2 separate regions of the Homo sapiens genome follow, and region 2 is linked to region 1. Evidence: promoter capture Hi-C in 16 types of primary human blood cells and fetal thymus (Javierre and others, 2016). All regions are on one chromosome and are shown on one strand. Each heading gives the region's core, a stretch centred on a gene start or on the middle of the fragment in contact. The rest is flanking DNA. Distances are from core to core; before and after follow the strand shown.

Region 1 (5,362 bases), core at 838-3,337:
CCTACTTTAATTTCAGATCCTTTCCTTAACCTGCCCTTCATGAATCAAGCCTGTGTCAATTTAGAAACAGGAAAAAAATGTTTGATGCACATTACATATCTTTTCTATATGAAGTTCTTATGAAGGTTCCAAAAAGAGAAGCGATAAAGGAAACAAGACCCGAACACACCAAATATATAATATGTAGGCCATTATAATGCTTTGGCCTACTAGCACGGGGAAAAAAAAATACCTGTTGGGCAAAGCATGCAAATGACTGTAAAACATCGACAACAGCCATGCAGAGTAGTAATTTCATGCAAATCATTTTGTATACTACAAATTCTAACTTTCGAAACGACGAAAAGTCATAAACTTTGCTACAGTTTGGTTTATAGTGACAAAGTTCCATTTCAATCTCTTCTTTCCGATGTATTAATAAACATCCTAAAACTGCTTGTCTGTTCTAACCATTAGATCACTGGTTATCATTAGAATGAATTAGTGCTCACATCTATGTTGTAGTTTCAATAGGTTTTTAAAACAATTACTCCATTCCACACAATGTGGAATTATCCTATTCCACAGACCAGTTCCCTCCCCGACAAAAAGTGTTACTTTTACTTTAAAAAGTATATGACCAACATATCTCTGGTTCTGCCAAATTATCAGTTTATGTGCTGACTCAAACTGCCATTTTCATAAGATGAATTTTCAAAGAAGCTAACAAAATAAGCTCTCCAAACATAAAACTGTAACTCACAAGGTATATTCATCTACAACATGGGTAAAACCCGAAACTTCTATTTCGGTGAAGGAAGGATGAAAATAAGAGCTATCCATGCCCTAACGATTAGAAAAATTGTCCGGTTAGAGGGGAAAAAAAAAACCCTACACAAAGTTTCTTAAGCCCAGAGCCTAGCCAAGAACATGTGCATCCCCAGAACGCCAATGTAATAAATGCCTTGGAGAGATCGGGGCACACAAGTTTTTCCCTCAAGCGCCAATGGCTGAAGTACACATATAGAAATAGAAATCGCAGACAGCAGCACTGTGGCAGAAAAAAAGAGAAAAAAGGACTGATCTGGATGTCAAGAGACGTTGGTTTTAAGTCTCTTGGCTCAACAACTCCCGGAGTGACCTTGGGGAAACCTCTCTCTAGGCCTGTTTCGTTATCTTTAAGAGGCGACCTGAAGTCCCTTTACATTAACTCTATTCCAACTTCCAGTGATTCGAAACAGGCTTTAGGACTGCTTCTAATCAATGCCAGGAAAAATGAAAAAACAAAAACAAAACAAAACAACAGGAATCAGGTTAAATGGGTCAGAGGCCCCTAAGTGGATATAAAGCAGCTGGGTAAAGGGTAAGTGGACGCCGACCCAGCAAAGCACTGAGCGCGGCTTGGAGAGCGGGGGTGGCTGCGGGAAGGCCGGGGGTGGGTCCGTAGGGCTCCCGGCCCGGGCAGGAGGTGGAGCCGAGGCTCTCGCGTGCATTGTCCCCGGGAGGGAGCCATGTTTCTTACTCCCCGGCACTCCCAGATGGCGGCCGGGGACGCGGGCCCTAAGCAGACCAAAGCCCCAGGGACCTGGAGAGCCAGAGGACGCAGGCAGCAAGGAGGGAGCTCCAGTCCGGGTAGGGGCTGTCTCCCGGGCTGCGGTCCCCGCGACGCACCCGGAGGCGGCAGGGGGAAGGAAAGGCCCCTGGGGCGACGGTTCCGGGCTACGCGCCTCCCAGACCCCAGTCGATAGAGTGAGAAGGAAACCCATGCCCAACCACCGGCTGGGACAGCGGCGGGCAGGCCGCATCGGTCTCCTCTCCCCGCGCGGGCCGGGCGGCGGAGCAGTGGGAAGCAGGCCCGCGCTCTCGACCTCGGAGGCCTCGGGCCGCCCCAGCCCGGCGCGCCCCGATCAGCTACTCACCGTTGGCGCGTTTGAGGGCATTTTCCGGCCTCTGAAAATAGGCCGGCATCTTGGCGGCAGGCTCAGCTCACCCGGCGTCAGCGAACTCTCTAGTGGCCCGGGCCGGGAGAGGAGACGAAGGGGAACCAGCGTAAGGTCCCACGCGCCTCGCCAGCAGTCGCCCGCGCCCAGCCGGCCAGAGACGGAAAGGAAGGAGCCACGTGACCTCCCCGCGGCGGCCCTGCTGCCGCCCAGGCCCCGGATGTAGGGGGCGGGTCTCCGTGCGCGCAAGCGCGCTGGCGTCACGCACGCCGACAGACGTGGCGGCGCCGGAGTCCTAGGCGCGCAAGGTCCAGTTCCCGTCTTGGGCCTGTCCTGGATAGCGTTAGGGAGACAGTTCACAGGCTCTTCAATCTTCGAGCGAGAATTAGGGTGGGAAGGGTGAGTGTGGGGTCAGAGTTTCTGTCTGGAGAACAAGCAAACGTCTGCAGATTGGTTTTCAAAGCGACTTGTGCGGAGTCGTGCAGTTACAGTAAGGTCCCATCCAGCCTGGGAATCGCCTGTCTTGGCTACGTGAAAATGCTGAGTTTAACGAAAACGCAGTGAGCAGGTGTCATCAGGTCAGCGCCGCTCAACCGTGAGAGACAATCATGGGGAAGAGTGACGCCTAAAATAAACAAGCAAGGTTCTTTTATATCTTGGTAAAGTAAAAAGTTTGTGTCACAGGGATTGCCTTGAGAAATGGAGGCTCTCAGAGGGGGCGAATGGGGACAGCGACCTGGCAAAGGGCGAAACGCCCTGGAGCACAGCAGACTTGCTTGGTGTTTGAAAACACACGGAAAGGAGTGTCGTCACTTTTTACATACAGCGCACGTCACAAACAAATTAAGAAAAATTAGTGTTAGTGAAAAAAATCAATCTGAGAGGCCCTTTTATTGTTGCTTAACAATTTTAATGTTCGCAGACGAAGTACTTTACCTAGAATTTGAAAACCATTTGAACCGAATCTAATTCTCAAGCCCTTGGTACGAAATAAAGGTGAGCTCAGAAGGAAAAAAATTTTTTTTTTTTTTGAAACGGAGTCTCGCTTTGTCGCCCAGGCTGGAGTGCAGTGGCACGATCTCGGCTCACTGCAAGCTCCGCCTTCTGGATTCACGCCATTCTCCTGCCTCAGCCTCCCGAGTAGCTGGGACTACAGGCGCCCGCCACTGCGCCCAGCTAATGTTTTGTATTTTTAGTAGAGACGGGGTTTCGCCGTGGTCTCGATCTCCTGACCTCGTGATCCGCCCTCCTCGGCCTCCCAAAGTGCTGGGATTACAGGCGTGAGCCACCGCGCCCAGCCCAGAAGGAAAATTTAGAAGGCAGCAGTGAAATAGATTATTGTCAATGTATTACACATTTAATAGACGAGATATGTGAATTAATGAATGAGGAAATCGGCCGGGCATGGTGGGTCGCGCCTGTAATCCCAGCACTTTGGGTGGCTGGGGCGGGTGGATCACCTGAGGTCAGGAGTTCGAGACCAGCTTGGCCAACATGGCGAAACCCCGTCTCTACTAAAAATACAAAACTTAGGCCTGGCGTGGTGGCTCACGCCTGTAATCCAGGCGCTTTGGGAGGCCGAGGCGGGCGGATCACGAGGTCAGGAGTTCGAGACCAGCCTGACCAAAGTGGTGAAACCCCCCCCCCCGTCTCTACTAAAGTTACAAAAAATTAGCTGGACGTGGTGGCGAACGCCTGTAATCCCAGCTACTCGGGAGGCTGAGACAGGAGAATCGCTTGAACCCGGGAGGCAGAGGTTGCAGTGAGCCTAGATCGTGCCACTGCGCTCCAGCCTGGGTGACAGGGCGAGACTCCGTCTCAAAAAAAAAAAAAATTAGCCGGGCGCTGTGGTGGGCGCCTGTAATCCCAGCTACTCGGGAGGCTGAGACAGGAGAATCGCTTGAACCCGGGAGGCAAAAGTTGCAGTGAGCCAAGATCAGGCCACTGCACTCCAGCCTGGGCGACAGAGGGAGACTCCGTCTCAAAAAAAGAAAAAAAAAAAAAAAGAATGAGAAAACCACAGGATATACACACAAAAAGCATTTCCCCCTCATTACTTCTGCCTCCACAAAGATGGTTTTGTTTTGTTTTTTTATTTTTCAACATGAACTGTTCTACTACAGGAGAGGTTTTTCTATTTATCTAAATTGATCACTATAAAGAAAGAAGATTTGGGAAGTATAGACATGGACCCAAAAAATCACAAATTCTAAAGAAGTTTATTTTAAAATTAATTTCAGAGAGCTCATCCTCCAGAACGCTTAGACCATTCTATGTGTCTGAGCTTACTCAACAAAAAAATAAGAGCTGGGCAGGGTTGATATAAAAACAAGTACTGAGAAGCTATAGGAACTGTTTTATGGGCAGGATCAAGAGACTTGTTTGTGTATCTAATAATTAAGTCAAAATTAAAGAGTGAAACATATGAGCACATACTTCTTTTACGAGATGTAGACAGAGAACTATTTAGAGATGCAAACAAAATAAAGTTGACCTAAAAAATCAGAAAAAAAGCTTGCTGACATTCATAACTTTACGTTATCATTTCTCAAAGAAAATAGTAAAATGGGCCGGCATGATGGCTCACGCCTGTAATCCAACACTTTGGGAAGCCGAGGCGGGCGAATCACAAAGTCAGGAGTTCGAGACCAGCTTGGCCAACATGGTGAAACTAAAAATACAAAAATTAGCTGGGCATGGTGGCACGTGCCCATAATCCCAGCTCCTTGGGAGGCCAAGGCAGGAGAATCACTTGAACCCTGGAGGTGGAGGTTGCATGAGCCAAGATTGTGCCACTGCACTCCAGCCTGGGCAACAGAGCGAGACTCCATCTCAAAAAAAAAAAAATAGTAAAATGGCCTCATTCGTTATTACTCATTATTTGGTATGCCTACAACAACACAAACACTAGAAACTTGGGAGATAGGTGGGGCGCAGTGGCTCACGCCTGTAACCCCAGCACTTTGGGAGGCCAAGGCAGGCGGATCACAAGGTCAGGAGTTTGAGACCAGCCTGGCCAATATGGTGAAACCCTGTCTCTACTGAAAATACAAAAATTAGCCGATTGTGGTGGCAGGCCCCTGTAGTCCCAGCTACTTGGGAGGCTGAGGCAGGAGAATCACTTGAACCCGAGAGGTGGAGGTTGCAGTGAGCCGATACCACACCACTGCACTGCAGCCTGGGCGACAGAGCGAGACTCTGTATAAAAAAAAAAAGAAAGAAAGAAACTTGGGAGATAAAATGAAATCCAATATCCCTACATATTGATCCTTTTGCCTTTCAAATTATTTAAAGTATATAAAGCATTTAGTAATATAACAAATGATCATATATGTGTATTTAAATAAAATTATGTACGGTCTAGTGGCATTTTGGGAATGAATAAAGGTGTAACATCAATTTCCAGGATAAATTTACCTATTCAACGAAGGTGGCCAGGCGCA
Region 2 (6,069 bases), core at 838-3,337, 130 kb after region 1:
GTTCTAAGGCCTGAGCTGTGTGTGTGTGTGTGGTTTTTTTTTTTTTTTTTTTTTTTTTTTCCTAACCTGACATTTTTAGTGGACAGGATCTAGGTGGGTGCTGGTAGGCTCTCCTCTGGGTTGGGGAATGGTCCTGAAAGGGAGGAAGCAGAGAAAACAGCCCTCCACCTCCCCCGCCCCTCTTTCAGCCTTTGCAGCTGGCCACCTAGTGGTGGGACACGGTTGTGTATCTCAGGATTCGGGGGCTGGGAAAGTTTTCACTCTCGCTCCATTCTGAAATTATTTCTTGGGAAATCACTGGGTCTGATGGTACTGGAGCCTTGCAAGTTTCGCTGGTTCCTCCTGTTGCCCAGGGAATCTGCCCCCGACATTTGCTGCTGTAGATATTTGTTTGCCTGATAGATGCTTTTTTTCTTCCCTGAGCATTTGGTTGCTTCTTTTATAATGCTTTGCTTAGAGTGGGCAAAGTGATATCAATTCCACCCGCCCCCTCCAAATTGTTCTCCCCAGTATTTTTTCACCAACGTGAATTTACTGTCTGATATTGTTGTTCGTTAGGCCAACAAATTGGGTTTTTTTCCCAGAGCCTTGGAGAAGAGAGCTGCAGGCTGGAAGCTTGTGTGGAGTGACCGACTCCCATTGGGGCAGAATTACAGTGATTGAAAGTGCTCAAGAATGTGCCTTTCACTTTTTTTTTTCCTTTTAAAGGCTTTTTCAATTTTGCTGTGAGAGTTTGGTCGTCATCTCATGGTGAGAAAATAGCTCTTGATGATGCCTTGGAAATGGAGAGGGCCTGCGGAAGCAGGGAGAGACTGACACGTGAACAAGAAAAATTAATCATTTAATGGAAACCTCATTTACAATTTGCATCTCTCCCCTTCTTTCTCTCTTATGCCTAGAGGAAAGCCATGATTTTAAGTGCTTCCAGTTTCTTTTGGCTGGGCCTTTATTAGAGACTTGAGCCCATATATCCTAATTAGTGTGGACACTTTTAGAAATTAAAGCAATTTATGTTTCTCTTCTCAGTTCTCATATATTTGAATTTATTTTACTAAACTTAGTAGTTCTCCAAATAACCATATTATCTAAATATTCAGAAATGAAATCTTCAGTCAGTTTAGTGAAATATCTAATATAAAACAGTATATTAAAAAAATCTGAGTTGTTTAAAAGGTTTAAAAACACTTCTTAAAGATTCTTGTCAGTGGTTACAGATGAGAAATATAATTGGCAAATGTGAAATTTAATTTAGTTCACTTAACAAAATACACCGTAAGCAATTTAAAATTTGGCTTTCAAGTAAAAGTCACATTTGTCCCAAACAATAGAGAAACAGACCTTGAAGAAAGACAGGCACACTTTGAAAATGCTGTAAAATAATTTGTAGTTGTCCATGTTGGTGGGTAACACTGGGACCTATCTTTTCTTTTTGTTTTGCATTAAAGACAGATGGCTCCTAAATTCACTGTATCTTCAAAGTCTTACCGTAATAAGACATAATATAAAGTGGAAAGCATTAATGTAGCAATAAAATAGAAAGCCTGTAAGTGGATTAGAGTAAAATGATGGATTGTTAGTAATTAGAAAATATAGCAAGCAAGCTTCATGAACACTTGTGATAATTATTTTAAAATAAGAAAAGGTAGAGGTATGGGTTCAAGATTTTGAACCACGGAAATGTATTTTGGGGCCTGTTTATTTGTCCTGGGTCTCATGAGAAAACATCAACTCGATCACTCTTAGGAACTTTAGATTGCTCTCCTAAAAAGTGCTTAAGGAAAAAAAGAAAGAAGTTGAGACTGAATTCATGGCAATTTATGGGAATGAGCTAAGTGATTAAGCATTTCATGAAAAAGAGGCCCAGACTAACTCTATCTATTTATTTACATTTCAGAATCTCAGAAAATTGGCAGGCGACCTAATGTTGAAATAATAATGAGAAGGAGAGTTTGCTGAGTGCCTTTTGTGTGTTTCTTTTTGGTTTTATTGTTGCAGTAAAGGTTTTTGTGTTTTTCTCATCTTCTAGATCTGTTGCCTTTCTTCTGAGTGAACAGTGGTGAGAAAAAATTTTGCAAGGCCCCGCTTTTCCTTTCTTCACAGGCCAGCAGTAGCCATATCTGATCAAAAAAGATACCTGAAGGAATATTGATCACATTTTCCTGAGGCCCTAGCAAGCACAGGAATTGAGAAGTTAGGACTGGAACAACTTTGTCATTTGTCACAATTGCCAAACATTAGAATACACAGGAACCGTTTTTTCAGGTAACTCTGTGACTTGGCTGGATCTTCCTGATCATCAAGATTAGCACCTCGGGGCCTGGAAGAGGTTAGGGAGGGCAGGAAGAAGGAGTGAGCCAGCATCCAGCTCTGCGTGGGGCAGGCTATGGCGTGGACAGACTTAACATTCCACAGCACGGCTGAAAGCCCTGGACCTCTTTCCCTTGCACCCCTAATTCATGGTGATAAAACCAAAACATGGTGAATTAGGTTATTAGAACGTTGGAACATCTCTGAAGCTCAAAGCCCTCTTATGGCTATGTGAAGGCATACGTGGAGGCATACGTACTCCACCCTGAAGCTTCTCCTTCAATTTTAATGTTAATCTTACCAAGCGACAGCTTTCATCCTGGTTAAGGCAGCTCGGTGTGTGTAAAAGCAGCCTGGCCTGTTAAACACAATGCCGTTAAATCAAACTGCCTTTCTTTTTTTTTTTTTAAAGTTTCCTTTTCAGTACTGACAACTTGGAGGTAGAGAAACCAAAAGCAATGTTTTCAGAAGGCCTTTTGCTTTCTTAAAGATTTCAAACGATGATTGTAGTTAATCTGGCTGCCTGTTTGAAAAACCATCAGATAAATGCCCACAAGGCTCTCATCTTTCAGTAGCTTAGCTGCTGCTTGTCAGATTCTAAACTCCAAAGTGCTTGACTCTTCCAGTGCCCAAACTAATCCTTGTTTAAATTATGTCTTCAGAAGCTATAACTCTTATAGTGGCTTGCTAAATGATACCCTTTGGATCTGGGCTGAAGACTTCCAGAATGCCCAAGTGAATTTCAGGAGCGGGCTCAATGTTTAACCAAATTCACCTTTACCAAGGGCTATTCAATCCATATCTGGGATGTTTTAAATAAAACTATCCAGGACTGTGGGCAATATTCAAAGTTAATATTTGTTGCCAATATGTTTGGAGTGCAAGATAAAGCATTATAATGTCTAGACATTTTTGAAATAAAAAAGTCTTCTGGTTACCAAAAGGCATTATTGTCATAGGTCATGCAACTCAGAGGTGAAACTTGAGAAAACAGAAAGTGACTACCAACAGGTGACACATTGAGAAGATAATTAGGAATTTCCTCAATCATACAGCCCTCAGCACCCATTTCTCACATCAAAATAGAATGGTGGAGCCGAGTGCGGTGGCACAGCCTGTGGTCCCAGCTACTCTGGAGGCTGAGGAAGATCATTTGAGCCCAGGAGTACTGGTCTGGAGCGAACTATGCCTATTGGGTATCTGCAGTAAGCTCGGCATCAATATGGTGACCTTTCGGGAGTGGGGACCACCAAGTTGCCCAAGGAGGGGTGAACTGGCTTGGTGGGAAACAGAACAGGTAAAAACTCCATGCTGATCAGCAGTGGGACTGCATCTGTGCATAGCCACTGCCCTCCAGCCTGGGCAACACACAAGACCCTGTCTCTAAAAATAAATAAATAAATGAATGGAATAGAAGAGAATATTGAAGACAAGGGGATGAAGGCATGATTTTAAATGACTAAAATGGTCTGGGCATGGTGGCTCATGTCTGTAATCCCAGCACTTTGGGAGGCCGAGGCAGGCGGATCACCTGAGGTCAGGAGATTGAGATCAGCCTGGCCAACATGGTGAAATCCTGTCTCTACTAAAAATACAAAAATCAGCGGGGTGTGGTGGTGCCCGCATGTAATCCCAGCTACTCGGAAAGCTGAGGCAGGAGAATCACTTGAACCTGGGAGGTGGAGATTGCAGTGAGCCAGTATTGCACCACCGTACTCCGGACTGGGTGACAGAGTAAGACTCTGTTTCAAAAAAGAAAAATAAAAAATTAAAATGTATTATGGCCTTAAATAATAGGGTTGATTTCCACTTTAAAACATATCCTGTTATATTTCAGTGAAAATTTTTATTTAAAAATATTCTAAATATTGAAAAGATGTATTTTGGGGGGGCAGAGATAATGTCATTCCTTTTATTACCATCCAAAAACTGGAAGAAGCATTTCATTTTGTGAAAACTGTGCTGCTTTTAAAAGAGAAAGTCCTTACTTCCTGACTGGACCCTTCCCCCACCCCTGCTTCTCATTTTGAGGAAACCATTCTTGAATAGGCTTCTGAAAATCTTACAAGAGTAAAATTTATTTGTTCAGCATTTGGTTGTTGAAGGACCCAGTGCGGAGGTGACATTCGGGTGTCAGCCTCAGATAATACAATGTGAAATGACTGAAAAGATGCAATTGGGCACTGCCGTTCTCTTTTTACATGTTTTTTTGTTTGTTTTTTGTTTTGTTTTGAGACAGAGTCTGCTCTGTCGCGCAGGCTAGACTGCAGTGGCGCAGTCTGGGCTCACTGCAACCTCTGCCTCCCAGGTTCAAGCGATTCTCCTGCCTCAGCCTCCTGAGTAGCTGGGATTACAGGCGCCCACCATCAAGCCTGGCTAATTTTTGTATTTTTAGTAGAGGCGGGGTTTCGCCATGTTGGCCAGGCTGGTCTCAAACTCCTGGCCTCAGGTGATCTGCCTGCCTTGGCCTCTCAAAGTGCTGGGATTACAGGCATGAGCCACTGCACTCAGTCTCTTTTGATGTTTTTTAACTGATCAACTAGGTGTGAACAGAACTGGATTTTTTTCCCCGAAGAGCTGAGGCTGACTGGGGTGTGACCTCCTTAGCTGTGTAGACTGCATTGACTCTACTGTGCCTAGAATTTGGACAATGGCCTGAGGGACCAGTATGTGATTTAAGCATAATTAAAAGGTTATACTTGAGGGATAGACCTGAATCTGGAAGACAACTGCTAATTTTCTGGGGCACTGAGGGGTTTTTGTTTTGTTTTGTTTTTTGAGACAGGGTCTTGCTGTCACCCAGTCTGTAGTGCAGTGGTGCCATCTCAGCTCACTGCAACTTCGACCTCCTGGGCTCAAGTGATCCTCCCACCTCAGCCTCCTGAGTAGCTGGGACTATAGGCTCGTGCCAACATGCCTGGCTAATTTTTGTATTTTTTGTAGAGATGGGGTTTCGCCCTGTTGCCCAGGTTGGTCTCTAAACTCCTGGGCTCAAGCAATCCATCCACCTTGGCCTCCCAAAATGTTGGGACTACAGGTGTGAGCCACCACGCCCGGCCAACACTGTTTTTATGAAGGTCTGTTCCTAGAAATGGAAACCATTAAAAACAATGGCAAGAAGACCCTTTGGTTGAGGAATGACAAGATCCAAGAGGAAAACTGGTGTGCCATGGCGCCTTCCAGGCAGAGCAGGTGTTCAGGGCAGAGGCCTGGGCGGGTAGACGGGCTGCAGTTCTGGAGTGAAGACGGTGGAGGCTGCATTCTTTTCTGGCTTTCTGTTGGGATTGGCCTGGGTATGTCCTTTGACATAGCCTGTCACAGGGAATGACCGAAAAGATTAAAGGTACCTGTTCCTCTTCAGGGGCTCTGTTCAACGTAGTAGCCACTAGCTGTATGTTGTTATTTATACTTAAATTAATTAAAGTTAGGAATTATGTTCCTGAAGCATGCAAACCACATGTCTAGTGCTCAGTAGCCATGTGTGGCTAGTGGCCATTGTATTGGGCCATGCATATAGAACATTCCCATCATTGCAGAAAGCTCATCGGGACAGAGCTTCTCTAGAGGATTCTGTGCATTTAGTGAGTGTGATAACCCCATGACTTCTGACATGAAAAATTAGGGAAAATTAAAAGAAGCAGAGGGAGGCAGGGAGTTGGGGAGAGAGACAGTGTGGAGGAGGGGGAGAAGGAGAGATGAGAGGGGGAAATGGGTAGGAGAAGGAGAAAATAGGGAAGGGGGTGCGGAGAGTGAGGAAGAGAC

Evidence for each region. Contacts are between HindIII fragments. The CHiCAGO score rates a contact against its expected background, and 5 or more counts as called.
Region 2: a contact is called between a fragment that was not itself captured here and the fragment with the promoter of EIF3A in region 1, in 1 of 17 cell types (neutrophils). The highest score is 6.0, in neutrophils.

What each region holds. Positions count from the first base shown.
Region 1 is chr10:119,078,730-119,084,091 of GRCh38, forward strand. EIF3A (eukaryotic translation initiation factor 3 subunit A) reads right to left here and starts at 2,088. Exons shown (of 22, transcript NM_003750.4): 1 at 1,899-2,088. The coding sequence starts at 1,947. RefSeq lists a silencer at 1,553-1,812 and enhancers at 1,818-2,580, 2,008-2,302. The HindIII fragment of the contact is 5,277 bases long and covers 1-4,431 here.
Region 2 is chr10:119,209,455-119,215,523 of GRCh38, forward strand. The region is part of intron 1 of GRK5 (G protein-coupled receptor kinase 5); the gene reads left to right. It overlaps GRK5-IT1 (GRK5 intronic transcript 1), which reads left to right. Exons shown (of 2, transcript NR_186528.1): 2 at 2,027-3,250. It also overlaps the pseudogene RN7SL749P. Among named protein-coding and RNA genes, the nearest start is that of GRK5-IT1, 4.1 kb to the left of the region's middle. The HindIII fragment of the contact is 977 bases long and covers 1,600-2,576 here.